Regions from separate parts of the Homo sapiens genome. Here regions 2, 3, 4, 5, 6 and 7 are each linked to region 1. Evidence: promoter capture Hi-C in 16 types of primary human blood cells and fetal thymus (Javierre and others, 2016). All regions are on one chromosome and are shown on one strand. Each heading gives the region's core, a stretch centred on a gene start or on the middle of the fragment in contact. The rest is flanking DNA. Distances are from core to core; before and after follow the strand shown.

What was found. The method cuts DNA at HindIII sites, captures the fragments that hold promoters and counts their contacts. A CHiCAGO score of 5 or more calls a contact.
Region 2: a contact is called between a fragment that was not itself captured here and the fragment with the promoter of LTO1 in region 1, in 1 of 17 cell types (megakaryocytes). The highest score is 5.9, in megakaryocytes.
Region 3: a fragment that was not itself captured here is called in contact with the fragment with the promoter of LTO1 in region 1 in 3 of 17 cell types (endothelial precursors, M0 macrophages and M1 macrophages); the score reaches 8.8 in endothelial precursors.
Region 4: a fragment that was not itself captured here is called in contact with the fragment with the promoter of LTO1 in region 1 in 2 of 17 cell types (M1 macrophages and endothelial precursors); the score reaches 5.1 in M1 macrophages.
Region 5: a fragment that was not itself captured here is called in contact with the fragment with the promoter of LTO1 in region 1 in 2 of 17 cell types (M1 macrophages and endothelial precursors); the score reaches 5.2 in M1 macrophages.
Region 6: a fragment that was not itself captured here is called in contact with the fragment with the promoter of LTO1 in region 1 in 11 of 17 cell types (neutrophils, endothelial precursors, monocytes and 8 more); the score reaches 9.5 in neutrophils.
Region 7: a contact is called between a fragment that was not itself captured here and the fragment with the promoter of LTO1 in region 1, in 3 of 17 cell types (neutrophils, endothelial precursors and naive CD4 T cells). The highest score is 6.3, in neutrophils.

Annotation. Positions count from the first base shown.
Region 1 is chr11:69,673,659-69,676,980 of GRCh38, reverse strand. LTO1 (LTO1 maturation factor of ABCE1) reads left to right here and starts at 1,628. Exons shown (of 5, transcript NM_153451.3): 1 at 1,628-1,791. The coding sequence starts at 1,742. RefSeq lists enhancers at 1,267-1,466, 1,336-1,836 and a silencer at 1,957-2,046. The HindIII fragment of the contact is 5,284 bases long and covers 83-3,322 here.
Region 2 is chr11:69,179,384-69,182,705 of GRCh38, reverse strand. No RefSeq gene overlaps it. Among named protein-coding and RNA genes, the nearest start is that of SMIM38, 25 kb to the right of the region's middle. The HindIII fragment of the contact is 1,130 bases long and covers 1,049-2,178 here.
Region 3 is chr11:69,221,797-69,225,118 of GRCh38, reverse strand. No RefSeq gene overlaps it. Among named protein-coding and RNA genes, the nearest start is that of SMIM38, 68 kb to the right of the region's middle. The HindIII fragment of the contact is 1,438 bases long and covers 851-2,288 here.
Region 4 is chr11:69,238,307-69,241,628 of GRCh38, reverse strand. No RefSeq gene overlaps it. Among named protein-coding and RNA genes, the nearest start is that of MYEOV, 54 kb to the left of the region's middle. The HindIII fragment of the contact is 8,114 bases long and covers 1-3,322 here.
Region 5 is chr11:69,260,728-69,264,049 of GRCh38, reverse strand. No RefSeq gene overlaps it. Among named protein-coding and RNA genes, the nearest start is that of MYEOV, 32 kb to the left of the region's middle. The HindIII fragment of the contact is 9,090 bases long and covers 1-3,322 here.
Region 6 is chr11:69,288,989-69,292,310 of GRCh38, reverse strand. No RefSeq gene overlaps it. Among named protein-coding and RNA genes, the nearest start is that of MYEOV, 3.5 kb to the left of the region's middle. The HindIII fragment of the contact is 3,965 bases long and covers 1-3,322 here.
Region 7 is chr11:69,308,537-69,311,858 of GRCh38, reverse strand. No RefSeq gene overlaps it. Among named protein-coding and RNA genes, the nearest start is that of MYEOV, 16 kb to the right of the region's middle. RefSeq lists enhancers at 411-640, 482-981. The HindIII fragment of the contact is 4,555 bases long and covers 1-3,322 here.

The DNA.
Region 1 (3,322 bases), core at 379-2,878:
GTGCTTAATTTTTTTAAGTTAACTCTTTAACTCATCTGGAATTATTTTGATGAATGGTGTGAGGCATAAATGGAACCAAGCTTTTCCCAAACAACCAATTTTCCATTATAGTTATTAGTTAATATTTCCTTTCTCCAATTAATTTGTAATTCTTCTTTTTACCACATGAGAAGGCTTTACATCTATGAGAGTCCATTGTCTGGGCCATTTACTTTATTTCACTGGTCTGCCACTTCTTGAACCAACATACCACAATATTTATATTGACACTTTATCTTTTCATATCTGATATGAAAATCATTTTTTTCTAAAACATCTTAGTTATTTTTATTAGTTTATTCATACGGATGAAAAAGTTTAGGATTTTGACACATTTTACCAGATCTCATGGAATTTTCTTTGGTACTGCACTTGTTCAGTTCCCCAATCCTCAATCATGGTAGAGCTGTAGTTTTCCTTATATGGGTCCTGCTCAAATTGTTAGAAATTCTTATTTCTAAGAAATGTATTATGACTATCATAAGGCGATTTTCCCATCACCACCCCTGCTCAGGTTACTACCAATTATTGTTGGAATAACAGAAAGTGTTTTTTTCCCTATTCATCATACACATAGCTACTTGCTGCGATTATGGATTCTGAGAACGTCTTAGGTGACTATTTGGGTTTTCCACGTGGGCCATCATATCTGCAAATAGTAGTATTTCTGCCTTTTTTTTTTTTTTTTTTTTTTTTTGGTATTTCCACTTCTTGCTTCATGTTTTACTGCATTGGCCAGGGCTGGTAGAAAGATGTTCAGTGGTCACGTGAGGTTTTACTACTGACTTTATTAGGAATGCTTCTGGTGTTTCTCATCTGAGTTCCGTTGTCGCTTAGACTTTGAAATCCCTTTTTAAAAATCGTGTTCAGAAAGCACATCTCATGGAAATGACAAATATGAGAACTAAAACCGACAAATTTCTGCCCAAAATCCCACATGCAGAGCCTCCTGGCCTGGAGCCTCCTGAGGCGTCGGTTCTTTGATGACTTCCCATTTCTTTTCCCTTTTTTTTTTTTTTTTTGACGGAGTCTGGCTCTGTCGCCAGTCTGGAGTGCAGTGGTGCGATCTCGGCTCACTGCAACCTCCGCCTCCCAGCTTCCAGTGATTCTCCTGCCTCAGCCTCCCGAGTAGCTGGGATTACAGGCGCCTGCCACCATGCCCGGCTAATTTTTGTATTTTCAGTAAAGACGAGGTTTCACCATGTTGGCCAGGCTGGTCTCGAACTCCCGAACTCAGGTGATCCGCGCGCCTCGGCCTCCCAAAGTGCTGGGATGACAGGCGTGAGCCACCGCGCCAGCTGATGACTTCCCATTTCTTCCTTGGTTCTTTCGGAGCCACTTTGGGAAATTCGGTTCTATCTGCAGTGGTAAAATACAGGTCGGCTCTCCACGCGCGCGGCCAATGGACGCTCCCAGCGCGGACAGACAGGCCCTTTGCTGGAGCTGGGCAGGGCGAAAGGACCCCAGGGCGGGGCTTCAGTCGAGGCCGGCCCCGCCCACCGCTGCAGCCGCGCATGCGCCATGTACAGGCTGCTTTGGGCCCTCCCGCGTGCCGTTCTTACCCGGCCTGCCCCGCGCCGCCGCTTCCGGAAGTGGGTCTCGTCTCCTCCCAAGCGGAGCATTTGTGCCTGAAGCTGCCGGGTCTGCTACGGCACCGCGGGGCTGCAGAAACCCGGGGGCCAAGGGCGGGCTGCTTGCCGCTATGGCTGGCAGTCAGGACATATTCGATGCCATCGTGATGGCGGATGAGAGGTGGGTGGTGAGGCCGGGCCCGCACCCCGCCCTGTCTGGTCGTCTCCCAGCGGCTTCGCCGCCGGCTGCGGCCCAGGGCGGCTGCTGGAGCCTGGCGTCCCTTGGGCGTGCGCATTGGGGAGCGCCTGGTGGCCGTGGACGCAGGGACAAGTGTGGGCCTGATGCTCTGGTCCTCTTCTCCTGGCCCGCTCCGGCGGGGCACGTGCCCAGCTGCTCTTCCAGACCCGCCTTCCCTGTCAGGGCTGCCCCAAACATCTGCTCAGCCTGGTGGTTCCCCTCCTCCGAGGCCGCCTCGTCCTCTGGGAGGACAGACCTTTGCCATCTGGGAGCTGCCTTTTTTTCTGGTTCCTTAATCATAGGACATACGGCAGTATTCATGGATGTGCTGATAGATGTACCCGACCACACCCCTTTTCCCTCCAGAGCCCCTGGGGAGCCCCTCGTGCTGCGACAGTGGGGGAGCTGTGAGTTGCCTCCTGGCTGACTTCCAGTGCCCGGCCCAGAGGACGCGTCCATAGATGTTAGTTAAGAAAGCGGCCGAACATTTAGCAGTCAGGCGCTGACGTTTATTTAGCTCGCGCTGTGAGTCAGACACTGAGCTAAACGTTCCACCCTGGTTATCTACTTCAGCCCTACTTAGTAAGTGGATCCTATTATTCTTCGGAATTTACAGACTAGGAGGCACAGTCACTTTCCAGGGTCACACAACTATTAAGTGGGGAGCTATGCACCCTGCTTCATGGGGCGCTGCAGCCCACTCCTTGCATGTTTGGTGACTGCAGGTTAAGATAGTGGCAGTTCCACTGTTGGGCCTCAGGGTCAGTGCTACTCCGGGTACCAGTCGGAGAACATTTTGTGGTGATCTGATGCCATTTCTCTCTGTTGCCCTACCCATGTGATGTCAAACCCTGTGTATGTTGCAGTTTTTTGGAAGCGGTTGACTTGGGCTAGTGCTACTTGAACACTCACAGAACTTTGGCCCCCTAACTCTGGCTGCAAACCAGACTTATCTAGGAGACTTTGAAAAGTAGATTCCGGGCCAGATGCGGTGGCTGACGCCTGTAATCCCAGCACTTTGGGAGGCCGAGGCGGGCGGATCACGAGGTCAGGAGATCCAGACCATCCTAGCTAACATGGTGAAACCCCGTCTCTACTAAAAATACAAAAAATTAGCCGGATGTGGTGGTGGGCGCCTGTAGTCTCAGCTACTTGGGAGGCTGAGGCAGGAGAGCGTGAACCCGGGAAGCAGAGCTTGCAGTGAGCCGAGATCGCACCACTGCACTCCAGCCTGGGCGACAAAGCGAGACTCCATCTCAAGAAAAGAAAAGTGGATTGCAGGCCAGGTGCGGTGGCCCTCACTTGTAATCCCAACACTTGGAGCGGCCAAAGCTGGAGGATCGCTTGAGCCCAGGAGTTTGAGGCTATAGTGAGCTGTGATCATACCACTGCACTCCAGGCAGGGCAACAGAGACCCTGTCTCAAAAAAAAAAAAAAAAAAAAGGAAGAAAGAAAAGTAGATTCCAGGGCCTTG
Region 2 (3,322 bases), core at 364-2,863, 490 kb after region 1:
CCCCCTGACTCATTCCTAGATGGGAGGTCTTCATGTCACCCGGAAAATGGGCTTCAGGGAGTACACGAGCTGCTTGAAGTTATACCCAAAAGATGTTTTGTGAGAGGATGAAAGTTCAATTGCTTTCATCAGATTCAAAAGGGGACTGGGGCCTTCCCATAAAGACAAAGAAACGCTGGATCACAGATATGGGTGAACCTGTCAGCTATCCCAGCCACCTCCAAGTCACACCTGAGACCCCAGCGTTAGACACCATGGAAGTGCTGGCGTCACAGCAGGCTTTCCTTCGGCAGCCTGGTGTGATGCTGACAAGGCTGTATAGGAGGTGCCTTGGCCAGACCGGGGCTGAGGGGGCTGGGTGGGTGTGGAGAAATGGGGCATTTGACTGTCCTCATCCGTTTTGGAGCAGCTGGGACGTCTCTCACTAGGGGTCTCAAAAGGCCCCTTGGTTCTGAAACTTCCACAAGGTAACCCTTCTTTTGTTTTTTGTTTTTTGAGACGGAATCTCACTCTATCGCCCAGGCTGAAGTGCAGTAGTGTGATCTCGGCTCACTGCAACCTCCACTTACCGGATTGAAGCGATTCTCCTCCCTCAGCCTCCTGAGTAGCTAGGATTACAGGCGCTGGCCACCACACCCAGCTAATTTTTGTATTTTTAGTAGAGACAGGGTTTCACCATGTTGGCCAGGATGGTCTCGATCTCTTAACCTTGTGATCTGCCCACCTCGGCCTCCCAAAGTGCTGAGACTACAGGTGTGAGCCACCGTGCCCAGCCAGTAAGCCCTGCTTTACCTGTGTGATTTCTCCTTGCTTCTCTTGTACTTTGAGGCCAGATGCCCCGACTCTGCCTGGGTACTAATGTCCTGAGAACTTCACCAACAAAAACACACTTTCCTTAGGGACACTGTGGCACCCATGATTTGCAGGAATCCCTTGGGGCAGGCACTCTGCTTCGGGCTGTCCATCTCGCTCAATTCTCAGCATGAGCTTAGGTACAGACTCATTGCCCCTCGTTTTACACACAGGGAAACTGTGGCTCAGACAAGCTTCGCCCAGGCTCCCACAGCTTGGAAGTGACCAGACCAGGCCTTGAACCCAAATCCACCATTTCCAGCATCCATAGACCCAATCCTCTCTCCACCAACAAGCACACTTCAATCAGGGCAGAGTTCAGCTCAGGGCAGAGTTCAGCTCGAAGCCATTGGAAAGCCCCAGATGGCAACATGGCGCCTATCCTATAGGCTGCCCCTTATCCATACTCTTTGCCACATGACTTTACAGTTTCCCCACAGGCATGGCTTGGCCATGGGACTCATCTTGAACCAGGTGAGTTTGCTGATAGGGGCAAATAAGGTTGGAAAGAGGGTTTTGTGGCCGGGTGTGGTGGCTCATGCCTGTAATCCCAGCACTTTGGGAGGCCGAGGCCAGTGGATCACTTGAGGTCAGGAGCTCGAGACCAGCCTGGCCAACATGGGGGGAAACGCTGACTCTACTAAAAATACAAAAATTAGCCAGGCATGGTGGTGGGTGCCTGTAATCCCAGTTACTCAGGAGGCTGAGGCAGATGGATTGCTTAAATTCAGGAGGCAGAGGTTGCAGTAAGCCAAGATTGCCCCTCTGTACTCCAGCCTGGGTGACAGAGAAAGACTCCATCTCAAAAAAAAACAAAAAAGAAAAAAAAGAAAGAGGGTTTGGGACTGGGCTTGCTCCCCTGCACTTCAACCAGTGCTGTGAGAAGATCACACCCAGGGAGCCTGCTGGTCTCAGGAAGAGGGGACACATGGACCATGCCGTGGCCCAGAGCCAAACCCAACCAAGCCCAGCCTAGATCAGCCAAACCCCAACCAACCCACAGACCTGTCCCTTGGAGCTGAGCCACTTCAGCCAAACAGACCCACACAGGACATAAATTCTGATTGCTGCATGCCTCTGAGCTTGAGAATGGTGTGTTATGCAGCGTTATTGCGGCCACAGTGAGAACAAGCCTCTTCATCTCCCCCTCATTTTTAAAACCGGCTCAGTGACAACACTGGAAATAGATCCCCCGGCCTTCCCTCCAGCCTTGTGTGCATTCATGCTGCTGGTCATGAGACTCGGTGCCCCTCTGTGTGGAGTTGGGGTGGGGAGTTCTGGGAAAGGTGCTAGGTGAAAACTGCACCAGCAAGAGAAAGACAAGCTTCCTTCTTGAGTCCCGTGTGGATCTGCTCCAGAGCCTGTGGTTGGGCTTTCACAGTGGCTGTTAGAGGAAGGAAAAGGGGAAGGAGCACAGCCAGGGAGGGCACAGATAAGGGGCCCTTATGAATGCATCCCCTTTGAAAGAAGTAGCCTCTGAACCAAGACCTAGAGTGTGATGGCCTTGTGAACGGCTAGTGTGTACGGCTGCAGCCACGGGGTCTCGCCCGAGCTAGAGGATTCTCGGTTGTTGATCTGATTCTCCCATTTGAGGCCTGGCAGGGAAAGTGCAGACCAATTATGCGGGCGCACTGAGAAGAGAACAGGACAGACATCCCTGGGGTCTTTTCCACCTCTCCTGCTATCCAAGGGAGAGACACTTCCCACAGGTCCAGACACGGAGGGAAGGAAACCAGAAGGGTAGCACCAGGTAGGCCCATCTCCACACACTGCGGCCGCCTGGACCTCGGAAAGCCACCTTGATGCCTTCACTTACACCCTGGAGGTGATGCTGGCCACGGTGATGATAAGGATTAGACAAGTTGGTCTGTAGGGCACTCAATATGTTAGCATTCTCTTCTGTGGTCGGTCTCCAGGAGAGAGGACGGTCCTCACAGAATCAGTATCCAAGGACACTAAGTGCAAGTGAGTTGTCGGGATGGGCTCTCTCTGAGGTGCCACGTGCCCTGCAAGTGCCCACGCCTGCCTTCAGAGCATGCACAGTGAGGGGGATGCTGATGGGCTCAGAACTGCAGCCACATCTGGGTCCGGTTGCCCTCACGGCAGAGACACTAGGGACTGAGGCTGCTCTTTGACCTCCTTGGCTTCAGTGTCTCCACCTTTCAGGGGTGCTTTGGAGGAAAGCCTCACACCAGGCTGTCATGAGGCCATGCGTGAACAAAGAGACCACACGGGCCAGCTCCTGGCCCACGCTGTGCAAGGTGGAGGCCCTGATCATCACCCATCAGCAATGGGCTTGGACAGGAGGGGAACTGGAACTGGTGCTGGGGCCTCAGGGGAAGGCAGAAGGCACAGGCTCGCAGAGATGGCTCCAAGAGGTGGGAGAGTAGGGACCTGGGTCTGTCAAAGTCTCTGCACGGAGGGAGTTCCCAGCCAGGCCACTCCATTGTCTGAGGACTCTTATCGGCAA
Region 3 (3,322 bases), core at 320-2,819, 450 kb after region 1:
AGAAGATGCAAATTGCCAACATGAAGAATGAAACCGGGAATATCATTACAGACCCTGCAGACATCAAAAAGATAAAATAGAATACTATGAGCCACTCTACACACATAAATTTGACAACTTAGATAAATCAACTTCTTAACCACAACTCACCCAATATGAAATAGATAATTTGCATAGCCTTATAACTATTAAGGAAATTAAAGACATCATTTCAGAAATCTCCAAGCCTGGATGATTTTACTGGACAATTGTACCAATTCTTTGCAGAATAATTAACATGAATTCAAAAGCCATACATATGAGAAAGGAGAAATAAAATAGATAACATGATTATCGCTGTGGAAAATCCCAATGAATCTACATAAACAATACCTCCCAGAAACTAATAAGTTAGTTCAGCAAGGTGACAGACAAGATAAATATACAAAACTGATTGTATTTCTATGTATTAGTAGTAAACATGTGAACATAAAAATTAAAAATACAATGCTATTGAAATCACTCAAAAATTAAATAACTAGATGTAAATTTTTTTGATATACAGAACTTGCATGCTGAAAACTACACAACCACTATGAAAGACATCAAAGAAAATCTAAATAAATGAAGAGACATACCATGTTCATAGATTAGAAGACCCAACATAGTAAAGATGACAATCCTCCCTAAATCAGTGTTTAGGTATGGTTGATATACAGCAATTCCTGTCAAAGTTTCAGTAAGATTTTTTTGTAGATATACACAAGATTATTCTAAAATGTATATAGAAAAGAAAAGGTTTTAGAATAGCTAAAACAATTTTGAAAAATAAGAATAAAGTGAGAGCATTTAGTCTACTTGATTTTAAGCTTAATATATAGGCTTATATAATCAAATAATAATACAATAATCAAAAGTTCATGGTATTGGCAGACAAATAAACATACAGAACAATGGAACAGTACAGAGAACCCAGAAATAGATTCACAAGAATACACCCCACTAATTTTTAACAAAGGTATAAAATCAATTCGATGGAGAAAAATAGCATTTATAGAAAATGGTGCTGAAGCAACTGGATATCCATTTGCAATAAAATGAACTCCAACCTAAATTTCACACCTTTTACAAAAAGTAACTCATAATGAATTATGTACATGTGAAACTATAATACTTTTAGAAAAAAACAGAGGAAAAAATCTTCAGCATCTAGAAGTAGACAAAGAGTCCTTAGACTTGACTCTCAGAGCCGATCCATAAAAGGAAAACTTGATAAACTGGACTTAATCCAAATAAAAATTCTGCTCTGCCAAAGACCCTGCTAAGAGGATGGAAAGACAAGGTATAGACTGGGAGAAAATATTTGCAATCCACAAATCCTACAAAAGAGAAGTATCCAGGCTATAGAAAGAACCCTTAAAACTCAACAGTGAAAGAGCAAACAACCCAATTAGAACATGAGCAGAAGATATAAAGAGACATTTCCCTGAAGAAGATACCTAGATGCAAATATGTACATAAAAAGATGTTCGACATCATTAACCATTAGGCAACTACACATTCAAACTACAATGAGGTATCACTAGACACCTATCAGAATGGCTAAAATAAAAAATAATGGTATCAAGTGCTGGTGAGGATGTGAAGAAACTGGGTCACTCCTACATTGCTGGTGAGACTGTAAAATGGTACAGCCACTCTGAAAAAGTTTGGCAGTTTCATATAGCAAGAACCATGTGACCCAACAATTGAATTCCTGGGCAGTTACTCCTAAATAAATGAAGACTTATGTTCACACAAAAACTTGGACATAAATGTTTATAGCTGCCTTATTGTAATAGCAAGAAACTGGAGAGCAATCCAAATGTTCTTAACAAGTGAGTTATTAAACAAACTAAGATTACTTGGCAATAAAAGGAAGAACCTATTGACAGACACAACAACCTGGATGAATCTCCAAAGAATTATGCTGAGGGAAAAAACAAATTTATTAATCCACTTATATAACATTGTTGGAATGACAAATTTATGGAGATGGAGAACAGATTAGTGGTTGCCAAAGGTTAAGGAGGGTGGGGGACACGAGGAGAGTAGGTGTGTGTATAAAAATGCAACATGAGGAATCCTCGAGGTGATGGAAACGTTCAGTTAGTTCACTGGATCAATGTCAGTAGCCTGGTTGCGAGGTTGTACTATAGTTTTGAAAGACGTTACCATTGGGGGGAGACTGATGAAAGAGTACACGGGATATCTTTGTATTATTTCTCACAACTGCATGTGAATTGACAATTATCTCAAAATAAAAAGCTTAATTTTTTTAAAAAGCCAAAAAGTTTAAGAAATCAAAAAGAGAAAAGCTGTCAAAAGACACTCCGTCTAAAGACAGAGTGAAAAAGCAAGTCACAGAGTGAAAGAAGATATTCATGATACATAGATCCAACCAAAGACTTGTCATCAGAGTATACAAACAGTTGCTAAAGATGAGTTAGAAAAAGACAGACAAAACCGAATGTGTTGTTGCTGTTTTGTTGTTGTTGTTGTTGTTGTTTGAGATGGAGTTTCACTCTTGTCGTCCAGGCTGGAGTGCAATGGCGCCATCTCGGCTCACTGCAACCTCCGCCTCCCTGGTTCAAGTGGTTCTTCTGCCTCAGCCTCCCAAGTAGCTGGGATTACAGGCATGTGCCACTACGCCTGGCTAATTTTTGTATTTTTAGTAGAAACGGGTTTTCTCCATGTTGGTCAGGCTGGTCTCAAACTCCCGACCTCAGGTGATCCACCTGCCTTGGCCTCCCAAAGTGCTGGGATTACAGGCATGAGCCACCGCACCCAGCCCCAAATGTTTTTAAAGTGAGGGAAAGGCTTGAACAGGCAGTTCACAAAAGATGTTTAGATAGCCACTGGGAATATGAGAAGGTGCTCAATATCGTTAGTCATCAGGGAAATGCAGTTAAAACCATAATTATAGCACACCCAACAGAATGGCTAAAATTAAAAAAAAAAAACGACCATACCAAATGTAGGCGAGGATGTGGAACAACCAGAACCTTCCTGCCTTGTCATTGGAAGCAGGAAAGGAAATAGGCCATTTTGGCAAACTGAGTGGTGGGATCTACTAAAGTTAAACAACTACAGTGCTCAGGCCAGCATTTTCAGTCCTAGAGAACAGTGCATGTATGTGTCCACCCAGGATGCGTACTGGAATGCTATACACGTTTTAGTAATGACAGCCCAAGGGCCAGGCACGTTGTGGCTCACACTTGTAATCCCAGCACTTTGGGAGACTGAGGCGGGCAGATGGCTTGAGCCCAGGAGTTCAAGGCCAGCCTGGGCAATATGGCAAAAC
Region 4 (3,322 bases), core at 514-3,013, 440 kb after region 1:
AGGGAAGCCCACGCTGAACTGTGGGATGGGCCCATGCAAATGAAGGGCCTGGAGCTTCAGCGTCATTATCTTCATTGACACCCTGGTGGTGCCTCCTACAAATGCCCAGAGGCTCAGCCCCCAAAGACTCCTCCAGTTTTCCCTTCCCACAGCCTGGCCACCAGATGAGGTCAGAGAGGCAGGCACATGCCTGACACCCAAGGCTGGGCTGAATGTTCTGCTGGAAAGAGAACAGAGGGTGAACAGAGGACAGGCATCCAGGTGAGGGTTGTGGCCATGCCCACAGGCCCCTGAATTTTGAAGAAAATCATTCACAGCCCTAATTTAGGCCTTCAAAACCTGCAATTCCAGACATTCCCATGCGGAGGTGCTCAGTCCAATGGTTGAGGACATAGAGACCTCATTGCAATGCAAGTGTTTCTCCTGGGTCTTTAAGAGAATCTGAGTCGGGCAGGGGCAACCCCACTCCCAGCAGCCTTTGCTAAGCACCAGGGAGGGTATTTATACCAGCTGTGGGAATTGGTAAACGCCCCAATTTTATGGATGTGGGAGAAGCTGCCCATCCCTAAGCTCCCTAACTCAGCCCCCTGCCCTGCCCCCACCACACACACACACTGATCCCACAAATTCTGCCACCACTGGGAAAAGCCAAATGTCTGGGCCAAACTGAGGTTGAACTTTACTCCCAAGGAAAGACTATTGCCCTGGAAGGATGAGAACGGGGCTGAGGAGATCACCACAAGGGGGCAGAGGGCTCAGCTTTGCTTAGACACAAACTTGCCCTGTACTTCTGGAAAGTTCTCTACTACCCCAAGCCTTGATTTCTTCATCTGTAAAATGAGTGTGCAAGAAGACAACATCTCTGGATTGTGCCCAGATCCATGGAGCTACGACAAAGCCAGTCTTAACAAAAACACAGCCAGGATCACCTGTGTCAGCAACCAGCAGGTGCATGCTCCCCCAGCCTTGGACTCAGGCCACTCCTTTGGGCTGAGATTCCAAAACTCTGCCCCTGGTTTACCTCATCCTTATTCGGCACCCAAAACTTGGTCTGTTCTCGCCATACCACTTGCTGTGCCCCGGGCAGGTTATGGGCTAGCTTGATTCCAGAGGCCTGTTCACTGTTTCCACCCACGGGAAATGCTCTAAGCCTCACCCCCCATCCCCCTGGGCTTGCACACAGGCCCCTTTCTCTAGGAGGCCTTTCTTTGCAACCGTGCCCAAAGAGATCCTGACCCTCAGTTTCCTCTGCTGTAAAATGGGGACATTTGGAAGAACTGGGCTTATGTCATCTCATGCCATCCTACATCGAAGAGGTGACAAGATATTTACCATATTTTGTTTTCCTTTTTTTTTTTTTCTTTTTTTTTTTTTTGAGAAGGAGTCCTACTCTGTCACCAGGCTGGAGTGCAGTGGCGCGATCTCGGCTCACTGCAACCTCCACCTCCCGGGCTCAACCGATTCTCCTGCCTCAGCCTCCCGAGTAGCTGGGATTACAGACACACGTCACCACGCCCAGCTAATTTTTGTATTTTTAGTAGAGACAGGGTTTTACCATGTTGGCCAGGATGGTCTCGATCTCCTGACCTCGTGATCCGCCTGCCTCGGGCCTCCCAAAGTGCTGGGATTACAGGCGTAAGCCACTGCGCCTGGCCTGTTTTCCTCTTTTAACAATAGGTACAAGCTGCCAAATGATCCCAGAGCCCACCTGCCTCCTATAGCAGCACATGAAAGGAGCTTTGTCAATGTCAGTCGGGCCTGCCTCTGAACCCTGTTTCTGACCAGCAGTCTTCCTTGTCCCCACTGTCGCAGTGTCCCAGGATGGGGCTGACACACCTCTCATGCCTGAGCCTCGGTGTTGTCATGACCATGTCATCTCTACCACTTAGTGCTGGGCCATCGGGGACAGGGCTTGCCTTTGCACATCCACAGTGCCTCTCAGGGGTTCACTTCGCTGGTGGGGAGATTCTTGAGGATTAAAATGCTCCGTTCCCCCAGTGTTTGATTGGAAAACCCAACAGAGGTGTTCGTCCCCTCCTGATTTCTCTGGACAGATGAAAAATGTGGGTGGTTTCCAGGGGTAACCTAAGCCGGCAGAGGGTGGGCAGGAGGGGTGGGCAAGGAGCGGATCAAGTGACCTATGAAAGGGGACCCTCGCCATCCACCCACCTCCAGACTGGCTGGGGAGGTTTTCTGTGGGATGGGAGAAGAGTCCAGATGTGGCCAAAAGGACTTACTGCCTTTGATATTCTATGCCCTGCTCATGCTCAGTTTCCCCTTTTGCCCTATTTCAGCCTTACACCAGGCAGAAGGCTGTGAGTGTTTTCTCTTAAAAAAAAAATAATCATCACAAACCTCTTTCGATTATGCTCATTCTGTTACCATTGAAGATGTGGGAAGAGGTGTACAAGGCTTTTCTTTTTTTTGCTTTTTTTAACAATAGGTACAAGCTGTCAACTCATTCTAGGGAAACCCCACCTCCTACAGTTTCTGGAAAAGACACTTTAATGTCAAAAGGGAAAATGAGCCTTCTGATGTGGTTGCTTAAATAGCCCCTGACCAATCTAATTTGAATACAAAATGGCCTATATCAATTCATTTATTTTTGCAAAGAAGGAAGAACTCTTCCCAGGAAGCTGGAGGTCTCCATCTCAACCCACAGGGTCAGTTCAGAATCATCCTCCTTCCCCACAGCTGCAGCTGTGATGGGAAAAGGAAGGCTGGCCAGGAGCCAGAGAGTCGTGCTTCAACCTCTGGTGGCCGTGGGAGTGGACTCAAGTACTTCACCTCCCCTCGTGGAAGCTCAATACCCTCATCTATAAAATGGAAGCATCCCTGCTGACTGCAGAGGACGGATTTGCAATGATGACACATCCTCTAGAGAGACATATCCTCTGAAGTCCTGAAAAAATGTGACACAGAACATATTGTGGCAATTTTGACTTAGAGGAAAGTTTAAGTCACCATCAAAATTCTGCATGGATGTTGTCAGGCTGAATAAAAGATCAACACCCAGCTATGTGCTGTATACAAGAAATCCACTTTAAATACACATATACACATAGGTTAAAGTAAAAGGACGGAAAAAGATATAAAGAGGGATGTTTCATAATGCTAAAGTCACTTAACCAAGATATAACCATTCTAAATGTGTACGCAATGAATAAGAGTGTTTCAAAACACACTAAGCAAAAACAGACAAAACTGAAAAAAGAAATGTAAAAATCCACAATTTTAGGCAAAGATTTTAACACTTCTCTCTCACTAACTGGCAGAACAACTCCACAGAAAATTAAGAGGAACACAGACAACTTAACACAAT
Region 5 (3,322 bases), core at 420-2,919, 410 kb after region 1:
ACTTCTGAGCTGGGATTCAGAGCATGAGTGCAACATTTAGGGGAGGGCTGAGTACATGCTATGGCCCAGTGCAGGTGGGAGGGTGCAGTAGGGCAGGAGGAAACACAGAGGTGCAAAATGCCCTGGGCTTGGGAAGCAGGACAGCCTGCTCCGCACATGACAGAAATATCTTAGCTCCCAGACAAGAATTCAGAGTGATCTTGGAAAGCAGCCAGCCCAGTCTCTTCATGGTGGGGGCTGTGGGGACGGGTGTCGGGGGTGGGGGCAGTGACAGACTTGAGGTCACACAGCTGGTCAGGGAGGAAGCCAGGGCTTACCCAGGCCAGGAGTGCCCTGGTCTGGGCCCTGCCCTCAAGTTCGGGGCACCTAATGAATTTCTTCTGCTTCCTTGTAACTCCAGAAGAGCAACTGAGGTCTAGAGGATGACATCATCAGAGTCATATCAGCTACACGGAGACACAGCCCAGAGCAGGAAAAGGGTACTGGACTACTGCTTTCAGAACCTAGAGTGGGAAATGATTCTCCATCATGGCCCTGGATGTTGAGTTGTCATTGTCTGTTTACACATCTGTCTTCCCACCAGACTCTGAGCAGGATGTAGCAGGTGCTCAGTGAGTGTGGATGGATGGGTGAGTGGATGGATGGATGGATGGATGGATGGATGGATGGATGGATGGATGGATGGATAGATGGACAGATGAATGGACAGACAGATGGATGGAAGGATGGATGGATGGATGGATGGATGGATGGATGGGTGGGTGGATGGTTGGATGGATGGATGGATGGATGGATGGATGGATGGATGGATGGATGGATAGATGGACGGATGGATGGATGGATGGATGGATGGATGGATGGATGGACAGATGGATGGATGGACAGACACGGTGGGTGGATGGACAGATGGGTGGACAGATGAATGGATGGACAGATGGATGGACGGACGGATGGATGGATGGATGGATGCACGGATGGACAGACAGGTGGACAGACGAATGGACAGATAGATAGATGGAAGGATGGATGGGTGGAAGGATGGGTGGGTGGATGGATGGATGGATGGACAGATGAGTGGACAGATGAATGGATGGACAGATGGATGGATGGATGGACAGACAGAAGGATGGATGGGTGGATGGATGGATGGATGGATGGATGGACAGACGGATGAATGGGTGGATGGATGGATGGATGGAGGGATGGATTGATGGATGGATCAATGGATAGACAGAGGGATGGATGGATGGATGGATGGATGGATGGATCATCCATCTGCTAAACTGCCAAAGTGTTTTCCAATGTGGCTGTACCATTTTGCCTTCCCACCAACAGTGTACAAGGGTTCTGGTTTCTCCACATCCTCACCAATACTTGTTATTTACTTGTGTTGACAGTGAAGAGAGAGGTGTTCTTCTCACTCGCATCTCAGGCCAGGTGAGGGGGTCCTCAGAAGCATCTCTGAGGGTCTGCAGGAGATTTTAGAGTTTTGGAGGATGCAGAGCCTGGTGCTGACCCCTGCCTGCACTGCCTAAATGAGGGGTGGCCAGAGCTGCCCTCGGGGTGGCCATCTTCAGGCATGGAGGGGAAAGTGAGTCATGGTGGACAGCCATGAAAAGAAGCCATGAGTGGGTCATCTTGAAAGGACATTTCCTATGAGGGTGAGAGACCACCAGGAGCCACCTGAGGCCCTCCCTAGAGAGGAGCCCAGGATGGGAGCAGTCACAGGCCCTTAGCTGAAGGCACCTGGCCAGGGCCAGAGACTCATGCTAGGGGTTCCCAATGGGGAAAGGCCCAAAGCCAGACATCAAAGGCACACGCCAGAGGAGAAACTCCAAGCCTCATGGGGGAAGAAGGAAAAAGGAAGAATGCAGCAGAAACCACAGCCCAGGCCCTCCCCATGACAGCTGCCCACCCTAGCAGGAGCCGTGGAGTGGGGAAGAGGGTGTACATGGGATAAGAGACTGAAGCTCTGGCCGGGCGCTGTGGCTCATGCCTGTAATCCCAGCACTTTGGGAGGTTAAGGCAGGTGGATCACGAGGTCAGGAGTTCAAGACCAGACTGGCCAAGATGGTGAAACCCCATCTCTACTAAAAATACAAAAAATTAGCTGGGCATGGTGGCACGTGCCTGTAATCCCAGCTACTCCAGAGGCTGAGGCAGAGAATTGCTTAAACCTGGAGGGGCAGAGGTTGCAGTGAGCCGAGATCGTGCCACTGCACTCCAGCCTGGGCGACAGTGCGTGACTACGTCTCAAAAAAAAAAAAAAAAAAAAAAAAAGACTGAAGCTCTGACTTAGACTGGACTGGACTTTCCATTTACTGAGCATGAGACTGTTTGTTAATCCATGAAGGTGTTGAGGAGAGCCACGAATCTGCCCCACCAACCACGTGGGCAGGATAGAGGCCCAGCATTGAAGGCCTGGAAAAAAAAAGAAAAGTGATCTCATGGATTTCCACCCCGAAGATCAGAGGTAGAAATCTCCACCCTGAGATCATTGGAAAAATTGCCACTGCCCCGTCTTCTGGTGGGATTGGGGCCACCCAGTATCTAGAACACATTTGGTGTGAGGAGTGGACCATGATACAGAGTCAGGACCCATCCTGGAGGCCCAGCCCTCCAGGCACAGGCAGAAGCAGACCCGAAGATCCCATCCTCCCAGGTTCCAGGCTGCCCTCTCATTTAACATTGCAGCTGGGTCCCAGAGACCATGCTGGTGGCGAGATGTGAATGTGATCCCTGTGTTTGTGAATAATCCCTCAAGGTCAGCCAGAAACCAGAGAACAATCTCCTCCTTTGTAGGGGGTGCAGGAGATGGGGCAGGAGACTGGCCTGTAGACATAATCAGCAAAAGTGGAGGGGTCCAGGAATGCCAGCCGCATCCTCAAATACCCCTCATACCTCTTCAAGTTGCCCCAGCCAATGCTGTTGTCATTTGGTACTTTAAGTCTTAAAAGAGACACAGGAGTTCTAGACAGGCTACCAGTTTCTGTAAGAAGGTAGTGGAGTTGAGGAGGCAGGGGAGCAATCACCCCTAATGCCATCATCAATCTGGCAAGTTCCAGATGATTCCTGATACCCTAAGTGTAGTATAACAGCAAGTGTGAGCTAGAAGGGAATCTAGGAGAATATCTTACTTAGAGCTGAGTACAACTCCAGAAATTTCTGTGACTCTGGCTTGAAAACTGGTGTGGCCACTGCCCCCCTAGAGTAAGTGCTTTCTAGATACTTGGTTGTCATGTGTGATTGATTTTGCTCTGCTTTCCCCAGCCCTGCCACATTCCAATTTCCTAATCTTGGTGAGCTAACCATAAAATACTTA
Region 6 (3,322 bases), core at 361-2,860, 380 kb after region 1:
CCTTATCTTACTTTTGTCTGCTGTCAGCATTCCAACAACCCTAGATTATTTTGGCACCCCGCAGTGTCACTCAGTCTCACCATAGCCTCACTCTAATTATCAAAGCTCATCTTTTGGGCTGATATCTGCTTCTGGGACTCCCAGTAGCCCACCTGGGTCCTGCTGGGGAGGACTGTAGAAATCTGACTGCCCCAGGTTGATTTTCTCCCTCTGTCTTCAACATTCAGATTGCCAGCCCACCTGTTAAATCATGATGAGTTGGTGATGGTGATGGTGATGGTGATGATAGTGATGATGGTGATAATGATGGCGTTGATGATGGTGATGATAATGGTGATGATGGTGGTGATGGTGATGGTGATGATGGTAAGGATGATAATGGTGATGATGATGGTGGTGATGATGGTGATGACGGTGATGGTGATGATGGTGGTGATAATGATGGTGATGACGGTGATGGTGATGAAAGTGGTGATGATGGTGGTGATGATGGTGAGGATGATAATGGTGATGATGGTGGTGGTGGTGATAGTGATGATGATGATGGTGAACATGGTGAGGATGATAATGGTGATGATGGTGGTGGTGATGATGGTGATGATGGTGGTTATGATGATGGTGATCATGATGGTGAAGATGATAATGATGATGATGGTGGTGGTAATGATGGTGATGATGGTGGTCTGATGATAATGTTGGTGATGATGGTGATGATGGTGGTGATGATGATGGTGATGGTGATGATGGTGGTGATAATGATGGTGATGGTGATGGTGATGATGGTGATGATGGTAATGATGATGATGGTGATGATGGTAATGGTGATGACGGTAATGATGATGATGCTGGTGATGATGATGATGATGGTGGTGATGATGATAATGGTGAGGATAACTTGTACTGAACATGCACCACATGTCAGTAGTTTTCCCACACTATTTCATTTAATCCTCATGACAACTTTATGGCTAGGACTACTGTTATCCCCATTTTACAGAGGAGGAAACTAAAGTGTACAGTGGCTCAGTCACATAGCAAGTTAGCAGTGGAACCTAGGGGCACCCAGGCAGTTGCACCAAGACCTGCTCCTAACATTACCCTATACTGCTTTTGGCTCAGCCTACAGAGCTGTCTTTGTGACCCCTTCTCTGACACTCCTCCTCTGAGCCAAAGGGCAGCTCCTCCCATCATCCATATCAGTCTGACTGCTCTTTCGCAGTAAGACACAATGAGGAAGCCAAAGACTCTAAAGGGAGGGGCACAGGGATGCCAGTTTCCCTCAGAGCACTGCCAAGGAGGGACCACAGCTCCAATGGCGTGGGCATATGATGTTCCACCTGCCACAACTCCATGCCCAACTCTCCTGCTCTGAGGGATCAGGCTTGGCCCTGACCCTTCTGCCTGTGAGCAACTGGTGAGCAGCCAGCCCAGGTTGCAGCCACCAGCATGTGGGCACTGGTCAGCACAAGGCATGTCTCCTGTCCAGTACTCAGGGCCTCGCTGGCCACAGTTGGACTCTGAAAGATTCCTGATGTGGACTCAGATGTGTTTGAGCCTAAAAACATGCTTTTCATTGGTCCCACCCTACTTCAAACAAAACAGAAGCCTGGGTTGTTCTAAAAAACCATGCACAGCTGCATCATCTATTGCCCAGGCCCCAAGGGTCAGGTTCTACCAAAATTTCTACCTGCATGATCCCATTTAACCTTCCAGCTGCCCTGCCAGTGGCCCTCACTCCATTTTACAGATGAGTAAACTGAGGCCCAGAACAGTCATGCTGCCTCTTCAAGGCCATAAGCCGTTGGAGATCAGAGCCAGGATTCTGAACCAAGGCTATGTGAAGCCAGTGGCCCTCTCCATGCCCCACCCCAGCCCAATATGGTGCGATCTTCTTGGGAAAAGTAAGAACTGATGCTGAATTAATTTTTAAAATTGTGGGAGGCAGAATTCTATGATGGTCCCCAGACCCACACCTCTGGTATACATGCCCTACATAGTCCCTGCCCCTGTGAATATGATGAACACTCTATGATAGGATTGTGTTTGATGGCACTGTTGACTTGTTCATTTTGAGAAAGGGACACTAACCTAATGGGCCTGACCTCATCACATGAGCCTTTTACAAGTAGGGTGTTTTCTCCATCTGGTCCTCAAAGTGGAAGTCGGGAATTGGACGATGAGAACCACTGCTGATTTGGAAAATGAAGGGGACCACATGGCAAGGAATGTGGGCAGCCAAGGGAGCTGAGAGTGGCCCCAGCCAACAGTCAGCAGGAAACAGGGACGTCAATCCTACAGCTGCACCTGCAAGCAACTGCATTCGGCCAACAACCCGGATAAGCGTGGATGCAGACTCCTCCCCAGATCCCCCAGAAGGAGCCCAGTCTGCCTGACACCCTGATTTTCACCACGTGAGACCACGAGCAGAAGACCCACAAAGCAGTGCCTGGATGTCTGACCTGCAGCACTTTGAACTTGCAACTGGGGTTGTGGTAAGCTATTGAGTTGGTGGCGATTTGTTATGCCGATAGATAACTAATACGGGTATGCCTGCAGGTGGTCTCCGGGGGATCTTTGAAGGTCATGGCCAGTGGGGCCTTTCCTCAGGAGGTTCCTGAGGCTTGGGTTCCTCCTGGGATGGGGGCAGGGGAGCCGGTTGCCTCTCCACCCAGACCTGCTTGGGTGCTGCAGAATTAGCAGGTGCCACAGTGAGAGCATGAGCTGTGGAGAGCAAGAGGGAGGCCTTGGTTCAAATCACTGCCTTGCACCACCTCTCTGGGCCTCCCGTTCCCCAACAGTAAAGCAAGATGGATGCCAGCAAGTTGTGAGTGAGAGAGTGAACTAAGTGATTCATTAAAAAGTGCGTAGCTCAGTGCCTGGCACAGAGTACGTGTTTAAGAAGCCCTGGGTGGTGATCAGATGCTGATCTCGACATTGTGTTATGATTATCACACACATGACAGAGGGTGTCCAGGCCAAGCCCTATAGCACTGAAATAGGTACCTGCCTCTCTGCCTTGCTGGCTGGCACCCCAAGTAGGAATTTCTCCCGCAAGGAGCAACACAGAAGGCTGGCTGGAGGCCCCTGCTGCTCCTGGGGCAGAGAGGGACCCTGTCCATTCACACTGGTAGAGCCACCTACCAAGGTCCTCCAGAGCCTTGCAGAGGGGTTGAAGAAGGCATTCCTTCAACAATTGTAAAAGGTGCATTTTAGAAACCAAGAGGGTCTTGCTTCTGTGAGTCGGGACTGAGGGTGAACTGGACACCTGGCCCTGTGCCAGCACTGTCAGAAACAAAAAGGAACCAAATCCCTGTTTCCATGC
Region 7 (3,322 bases), core at 546-3,045, 370 kb after region 1:
AGTCTCATTTCCTCATCTATAAAATAAGATGAAGAATATTCACTTTGCAAAGTAATGCTATGAGATCAGCCAGCACTTAGTAGGTGCTCAATAAATGTTAGATCCTTTCCTCCAGGCTTCTTGGAAAAACACAGTCCCTGAAGGCAGAAGTCTCCCAGCTCTTATTTCCTCTACACAGTGTGGTGTGGAGAAGTTCAGAGCAGCGGTCTGGGTTCACACACGAGCTTGGCCTCCACCTAGCAGAGCAGTGGGGTCTGGGAAAGCAGCTTGCTTTTTGTGACTCAGTTTCCAGGTCTGTAGGAAGGAATAGTGACAGTGCCTACATCACTGGGTTGCCTGGAGGATTCTGTGACTTATGGGAAAGTATGAACAGGAAACAAAGGATGGCTCAGCAAGGGCTGACAACTATCCGCATGGGTCACTCTGCAGGTGGCTGGACCGAGACAAAGTTGGATTCTAGTCTTGGACACTCTTGTGCTGGGAAAGTCCCTGGTTTCAGGGGCTTTCTGTGTCCCTGCTGTGAAATGGGTACGCTGACTCACAGGCTTGCCACAAGGCATGGGGAGGTAGTGGGCAGGAGGCCCCAGTGGGAGGCCTAGCCAATGGCAGGGAGCAGCCACAGTCTTGTCCCAAAGCTAGGAGCCCGAGGAGCCTTTGTCCCAGAGACAATGAAAGGTGGGGGCTGTAGCATCAATAGAGACACCTGTCGGTACTACAGCCACAGTCAGCGGAAGGGAGCACTCGGCGTGGCCAAGAGCGAGACTGGGACCTCTGTGCCCACCCTGCCCAAAGGCAGCAAAGAACCCCCCGGCTCAGGACTCCCCTCCACCCCCATCCATGCCTAGGCTCTGGAGCAGGTGGCCTGGCTTTGCCCCCCTCGCTGTGTGGCCTCAAGCAAGTGACCGAACTGTTCTGAGCTTCCACCTCCACGTCTGCAGACTGGGACTAATCTGGGTTACTGGGAGGACTGGCAAGTTAATACATCACCCAGGGTCTACTGGATCACACAGTAGGCACTCACTGAATGTTGGCATAATGTCCAGGACTGTTATTCATTCCTTCCCAAGCTCTGTGCCACCCCTGAATGGTCCTGGAGCTGACAGAGACAGAACAGCCCCTGGCACTTGCATCCAGGCCAAGTCAGGACCTGGTTTCTGCACCCCTACGGCCCAGACACCCATGTCTCGAGACCCAGTTCTAACGTACCGTCCTCTTGGAGCCTTTCCGCAGGCTTCCTTTCCACATTATACTCATGCCGGGGGCCCACGGGGCTCAGATCCCTGGAGTGCAGGGACAATGGACTTATCTTTGTGGCCCCAGTGCCGTCCTCCTAGTCTTTTCCCACATGCTGTGGGAAGACACAAGGAGATTGGGAGAGGCCGAACTGAGAGCTGGAACGAGACTTAGAAGCACTCACACCAGTGTGCAAAGGGCCCACATTGGCTGGACAGAGACCACCTGCTCGTACCGTGCAGAGCCAAAGGCAGAGAGGAACATAGGGACGGCAGTGGAGATATGGAGAAGGAGACGGATTTGAGAGTCGTGGAAGGAGGTTACAATGATGGAATGAAGCAGAAGAATCTAAGAGCCTGATTCAAGAGATACAAGGGACAGGAATCCCCAGAAGGACGTGTGACACCCATGTGTGAGGCTTGGCCCCATTCCATGAGATGGGGACAGCCCATGGAGGACCAGGATAGGGGCAGGGAGGCCATCCCGTTTGGTTTAGGCCATGTTTGGCTGGGAGCATTTCAGGTGAGAGTCACTGCTCCTCCTCTCTTCATGGGATCACACAGAGAGCCACAAGCAGAGCTGGGAGAAGGATCTGGTCTCCCTTTCCCCCTCATGTGAGTCTAAGACTGTTTCCAGCCCTCCCTGTGGTTTTCCAAGAGGACACTGAGTGGACCGAGTCCAAAGAGGAATGTTCCCTTGAAAACACGCATCCTCTCAGCTGTTTTCCTCTAGAATCATCAGCAAGAGCCCAAAATCCATACATTGTTTTCTGGTGAAAAATAATAGCAATCCTGTCCTGGTTGCCAAGTCTGTGAAATCATGAGCAGCAGACAGGGGACCTCTGGAGCATTCCCAGCGAGCCAGGTGCCAGCAGCCCCCTGTGGCCCTGAGGGCAGGTGCTGCGGGCGGGAGGGTCCGTTAGGGGCCAGCTGGGCCTGGAGTGGAGGCCATAGCCCTCTCTCCTCCAGACACCTGCTTCTGGAGGGACCTTGCCCCCTCCATGCTGAAGTCACTATGTGAATACTAGGACCCCCAGAATTTTTCTCTGGCCAAGATCTCCCCTGAGCCCGGAGCTGCTAACCCAGCAGCTCAAGGCTTCTGCCTCACCCGTGGGAGTCTCTTAAGCAGCTCAACCTCAGTGTGCCCCAAAAGGAACCCACCTCTTTGCCTTCCTTTCTCCAGGTCCCTCTCCTGCTTCCAGTTGCCCCAGCTGCAAACCTGGGAACACATTGAGACCCAGGTCACTGAGCTGCATGTAGTCTCCCTCCTTGAGCTCTCACATCTGCCTCACGCCTCCCACCCCACACTAGCCTCTGCCCAGATAGCTGCCACCACCCCTGACTCACCCGGCAATCTGCCCTCCTTCTATCAGAAAAGGGGTCTTTCAAACAGGATCCGGACAATGCCACCTCCTGCTCCAGTGCACTTCAGGCCACTCCCAGTGGCCCATCAGAACCCCCCACTCACCCCCTCCGCCTGCTTCAGGCCCTGCCTGGGGGCCCCACAGCCACCCACCCCCACGGGACCTCCAATCAGGCCCAAGGCACTCATCACCAAATCTGCCCCAACCTGCATGTCGGCCATGTTTGCAAGAGCTGTTCCCACTCTCAGAATGGTCTTCCCACTCCCCGACCCCAGGGGAAGCTGAGTTGCACCCCCGTCATAGCCCAGGAACCTCTTCCCTGGGATGCATCCCCATCCCCTCCTCCCAGGGCATCCCTGGAGCAGCCCGTATCCCAGGTGCTGCCTGGCGGGCTCCACTTCCCGTGCTAGGTGGCACACTGTGCACCTAAGGCAGTGGGAGCCTTTGGAAAGCTGGGACTTACAGTCACATCTAGCTGGGTTCAGACCCGCAGGAGCAAGAGCCAGGCAACCTCAAGCAGGCCTCGTGGCTGCAGCTTCTGCACATATACAATGTAGGAGACCGCATGACCCAGCCCACAGGGCTACTCCCGCCTTCACCCTACATGGCTTGTTGGCATTCCTATGACGTGCCAGGCATGGTTGTAGGAGTGGTGTGAGAGCAGGGAATGCACAGCCCAAATCCCTGCCACCCAGAAGCTGGCCTGCTCACGGACAGAGGCCCAGC